2 separate regions of the Homo sapiens genome follow, and region 1 is linked to region 2. The links are contacts of gene promoters, found by promoter capture Hi-C in blood cells and fetal thymus (Javierre and others, 2016). All regions are on one chromosome and are shown on one strand. The core of a region is centred on a gene start or on the middle of the fragment in contact, and the rest is flanking DNA. Distances in the headings are between cores, read along the strand shown.

The links. The method cuts DNA at HindIII sites, captures the fragments that hold promoters and counts their contacts. A CHiCAGO score of 5 or more calls a contact.
Region 1: a fragment that was not itself captured here is called in contact with the fragment with the promoter of ZNF714 in region 2 in 1 of 17 cell types (fetal thymus); the score reaches 5.3 in fetal thymus.

Annotation. Positions count from the first base shown.
Region 1 is chr19:21,828,470-21,831,313 of GRCh38, reverse strand. The region is part of intron 1 of ZNF43 (zinc finger protein 43); the gene reads left to right. Among named protein-coding and RNA genes, the nearest start is that of ZNF43, 6.3 kb to the left of the region's middle. The HindIII fragment of the contact is 3,605 bases long and covers 1-2,844 here.
Region 2 is chr19:21,080,835-21,083,596 of GRCh38, reverse strand. ZNF714 (zinc finger protein 714) reads right to left here and starts at 1,394. Exons shown (of 5, transcript NM_182515.4): 1 at 1,249-1,394. RefSeq lists an enhancer at 906-1,055. The HindIII fragment of the contact is 3,534 bases long and covers 1-2,762 here.

The DNA.
Region 1 (2,844 bases), core at 201-2,700, 750 kb before region 2:
GAATCATGCTACCTGCAAACAAGAGTAGTCTGACTTTCTTTCTCTTTATCTTGCCTGATTGCTCTGTCCAGTATTTCCAATGCTATGTTGAATAGGAGTGATGAGAGAAGGCATCTTTGTCTTGTGCCAGTTTTCAAAGAGAAATGCTTCCAACTTCTGTGTGTCCATTCAGTGTATTGGCTTTGAGTTTGTGACAGATAACTCATTATTTTGAAGTATGTACCTTTAATGCCTAGTTCGTTGAGGGTTTTAACATGAAGAATGTTAAATTTTCTTGAAAGATTTTTCTGCATCTATTGAGATAATCTTGTGGTTTTGGTCTTTAGTTCTGTTTATGTGATTAATCACATTTATTGATTTGTGTATGTTGAAATAACCTTGCATCCCAGGGATATAGGCTACTTGATCATAGTAGATTAGCTTTTTGATGTGCTGCTGGATTCAGTTTGCCAGTATTTTGTTGAGAATTTTTCCATCATTTTTTATTAAGATCATTGGCATGAAGTTTTCTTTTTTTGTTTTATACCAGGTTTTGGTATCAGAATAATGCTATTATGTAATGAGTTGGGGAAGAGTTCCTTCTCAATTTTTTGGAATGGCTCTAGTAAGAATGGTATCAGCTTTTTTTTTTTTGTACATCTGGTAGAATTCTTTTGTGAATATGTCTGATTCTGGTTTTTTATTGGTTTCTAGGCTATTTATTATACTTCAATTTTGAATCTTGTTGGTCTCTTCAGGGATACTTTTTTTTTTTTTTTCAGTCTTTGGAGGATGTACGTGTCTAGGAATTGATCTATTCTAGATTTTCCGGTTTGTTTACATAGAGGTGTTCGTTACAGACTTGAATAATTATTTTGTTGTTGTTGGGTCAGTGTTAATGGCCATTTTGTCATTTCTAATCGTGTTTATTTGGATCTTCTCTTTCTTCATTAATCTCTCTAGAGTGCTATTTATCTTATTAATTCTTTCAAAGATTTTACTCCTGGATTTCTTTTTTTGTTTGTTTGTTTGTTTTTTGTTTTGTTTTTTTTTTTCATTTTGTTTTTGAAACAGAATCTCTCTCTATTGCCCAGGCTGGAGTGCAGTGGCACAACCTTGCCTCACTGCAACCTCCGCCTCACTGCAACCTCCGCCTCCCTGGTTCAAGCAATTCTCCTGCCTCAGCCTCCTGAGTAGCTGGGATTACAGGTGCCCACCAATACACATGGCCAATTTTTGTATTTTTAGTAGAGACCGGGTTTCACTATTTTGCCAGGCTGGTCTCGAACTCCAGACCTCAAGTGATCTGCCCACCTCGGCCTCCCAAAATGCTGCGATTACAGGGGTGAGCCACTGCACCCAGCCTTCTCCATATTTTTATCATTTTTTTGTCTAACTCTCCAGTTCAGATCTGATTTTCATTTCTTGTCCTCTGTTAGCTTAGAGGTCAGTTTGCTTTTTCTTCTCTTGTTCTTTTATGATGTCAGGTTTTGTGTTTTTTTGTTTTTTGAGACGGAGCTCAATGAATCCAATGTCTACTGAAATTCAGATGTTCAAGAGTTCAATATGTCCAGAGACCTGGCTGTTGTAAAAGAAAATATAAATCAGAGGCTTTATTATCCTACCTGAAAATAAGAGAGACTATCTTGTTCAACTCTTTTATCTTAAAGCATTTAGATTATATGGAGATATTTTTATTGCTTTTTTGAAATATATTTAAATCATATTAACAGCCAAATCTTTTGGCATTCTTTTGACTCAAGATTGTCTTTATTTAAGACCTCAGATTCATTGCTTATCCTTGATTTGGGAAAATTTAATTTTTTTTTTAGTCTTTTAAAGTAGACACAGATTTGTTTAGATTAAAGCTCATTTTAAGAGCACACAGAAGTTTAGTACGAAGAACGAATTAAATTTAGAAATACAGAATGGTAAAAACTAAAAAATACTGAATAAATTTCTTTGACAGAAAACTGATAATCCAAGGTAATCTAATATTTGCAGGCTGAAGTACTTACACTGCAAAAGCAAGAACAGTTCAGTGTGTAAACTCAACCTTGGAGTCTGTGTAGTTTTTTTTGTGTGTGGTGTTTTTTGTTTTTTTTTCCTTTGTGATGGAGTCTCACTCTGTCACCCAGGCTCGAGTGCAGTGGCACGATCTCGGTTCACTGTGACCTCTGCCTCATGGGTTCAAGCGATTCTCCTGCCTTAGCCTCCTGAGTAGCTGGAGTAGCTGGGACTACAGGCACGTGCCACCACGTCCGGCTAATTTTTTTTTTTTTTTTTTTTTTTTTTTTTTTTTGAGACAGAGTCTCTCTCTTTCGCCCAGGCTGGAGTGCAGTGGCGCCATTTTGGCTCACTGCGATCTCCGCCTCCCTGGTTCACGCCATTCTCCTGGCTCAGCCTCCCAAGTAGCTGGGAGTATAGGCGCCCGCCAGGGCACCCGGCTATTTTTTTGTATTTTTAGTAGAGACGGGGTTTCACCGTGTTAGCCAGGATGGTCTCGATCTCCTGACCTCGTGATCTGCTCGCTGCGGCCTCCCAAAGTGCTGGGATTACAGGCGTGAGCCACCGCGTCCGGCTGTATTTTTTTTTTTTCCTTAAATTTACTTTTTTTGAGACGGAGTTTCACTCCTGTTGCCCAGGCTGGAGTACAATGGCATGATCTCAGCTTACTGCAACCTCCGCCTACTGGGTTCAAGTGATTCTCCTGCCTCAGCCTCCTGAGTAGCTGGGGTTACAGGCATGTGCCACCATGCCTGGCTAAATTTTGTACTTTTAGAGTAGAGACAGGGTTTCTCCATGTTGGTCAGGCTGGTCTCGAACTCCTGACCTCAGGTGATCCACCCGCCTCAGCTTCCCAAA
Region 2 (2,762 bases), core at 145-2,644:
ACAAACAGGTGATAACGTGAATTAGGGAGGAAAAGCTGGCATTAGGGAATGCCAGGAGGAACTGGAAATTTAATATCTTACTGCAAGCCAGAGTGAGGCTGGAGATATGGGGGACGGGAGGTTAGATTTAAGACAGTGCTTGGGACACAGTTGAAAAATGCACCAGAAAATCAGTTCCCCATGGAGTGTGAAAATAATTAAGCGGCGGGAAATTAGACTGAGGTGTCTCTAGTCCCTGGATTCCTACTTTTAAAAAAATCTGGCTGGGCGCGGTGGCTCACGCCTGTAATCCCAGCACTTTGGGGAGGCCGTGGAGGGCAGATCACCTGAGGTCGGGAGTTCGAGACCAGCCTGACCAACATGCAGAAACCCGTCTCTACTAAAACCACAAAATTAGACGGGCGTGGTGGCGCATGCCTGTAATCCCAGCTACCTGGGAGGCTGAAGCATTGGATCGCTTGAACCCGGGAGGCAGAGGTTACGGTGAGACAAGATCGCCCCATTGCACTCCAGCCTGGGCAACAAGAGCGAAACTCCATCTTAAAAAAAAAAAATCTAACTGAGGTGCATTTTTAGTAAATTACTACATTGAGAGAAACAAAATTCATCCTTAACCAACTATAAACTGCCAATTAACATCTAATTACATAACCAGGAAATTTTCACCTTTATTTTACAAATTAAGAAACTATGTATCTGAACCTAACCAATTACTGAATTTGGTTTTCTTCATCATGCTGTTTATAAAAGTCTTTACTTCAAGCCCCGCCCATAAACCATAAATTACAAACCACAGCTGGGTGCTCCACAATTTTTGAATCACGCTTTGATTAAATGCTTTAGTGTTTTAACGGTGACTCCCATACATTTTCAACAGAAGAGGAACTGGAACCCCACGGACCCATTCATAAACCCGCACCCCGAGTCAGGATTCTACCCCTGGGACCCTCCAGTGGTCCCTGCACAATCCGGGAGAGACGCGCCGCTGAGGGTCCAGAGCTGCCCTGAGAGGACTCCAGGTCAGGGCCCAGTCACTGCGCAGGGAAAAGACAGGACGCCCGGGATCCCGCAGTCAGCGCAGCCGCCATCTTATGGCTGAAGGGGACTGAGGCCGAGCTGAGCAAGGAGAACTCCGGGCGCAGATTGTAGAGTTGACTGCGGGGAGGCCTAAGTCCCACCACAGCCACTTCCCACCGCTTACAACCCGCCCCTTCCCCTCTCTCGGGATGTCGGACCCGGCACTCTCACCATTTCTAGGCTTCCGGGGTACCTGGCGTCTTAGCTGTGGATCTCTCAATACCTGCAGGTCACAGGGCCACAGAGGCTGGGCCTCTGCGAGCAGAGGACACAGGGCAGTGAAGGCGAGACCTGCAGCTCCAGCTGCAGCGAGAGACAAAGGCCCCGCCACATCCCCGAAGCCGTCCTGTCCGCTCCAGCTGCAGGCCTGATTGGACGGTTCCCAACCCAGCGTCGCTGATTGGATAACTTTTAAAACCCCACCTTCTCGTGCCCTGAGTGACAGAAGATGTGATCAGTTGCTGGGCTGAGTGAAGAAAGGGTGACAGCCTAGGCTGCAGCCTTCTCAGGCAGGGCTTCCTCCCAGAGCTGAGCCAGGCCCACCCCAGAGGGAATTTGCCTTTAAACTTGTGTGTAAAGTCATATGCATTTATAAATAATATATGGCTCTTCACAAAGGAAAAAATATAATTTTATAATAACAATTATTTTAAAATTTCAGATTTTATGACCTTCCTGGCTTCTTTCTGGTCTTTGAGCAGGCAGGCTGAGATTTTAGAAAGGAGGTAATCCTCTGAAATAAAATGTGAGCCATATGTGAATTTTAAGTTTTCTAGTAGCCAAACTTGAAAAAGAAACAAGAACAGGTTGAATTGATTGTAACAATTTAATTAACCCAATATATCAAAAAAATTTTCATTTTAATGTGTGAGAAATATGTAATTATTAATAAAGTATATAAATATTTGGAACTAAATCTTTGAAACTAACTCTGTATTTTACCTTTCTAGCATCGCACTTCAGACCAGGCGCCACACATGGCCAATAACTGCCACATTGAAGTGCAGCTCTGATGTCAGCGGTGTGAAGGGCCCAAGCAAACCTTTTCTGCCAGAGGTGAAGGAAGAGCCTCTCCCTACCAACATCTCTCTTCCGTTCCGGGGGTGGAACAGATAGTGGCCAAAGAAAGAGGAGACGGCAGCAGGAATAAAATAATTACAAGTAAAGCACTGCTGGATGAGATCACAGGCGCGCGCCACCATGCTCGGCTAATTTTTTGTATTTTTAGTAGACACGGGGTTTCACCATGTTGGCCAGGCTGGTCCTGAACTCCTGACCTCAGGTGATCTGCCCGCTTTGGCCTCCCAAAGTGTTGGGATTACAGGCGTGAGCCACCGCACCCAGCCTCAAAATGTTTTTTCTTTCTTTTTTTTTAATTTTAAAAAATGATGGGAACATGTCAAAGGGAGCCAGCCTGAAAGAACTCCCAATGGTCCATCCTGGAACAATGTTAGCATCCAAATGAATAATTAGAGCACTGACCTATAAAATAAATCAAGTCAAATAAATAAATACCCATGCATTTACACTGATACACAAAAAACTTTAAATAAATAAAAAAGAAAAAAGGATAGGGAAATTTTTTTTTACAGAATTCCAAATACTAATCAACATAGATAAAATGCTAAAGAAACCATCACAAAACCACCAGTTATTATTGTATCCAAGGTTAACTGAGGAGTGTA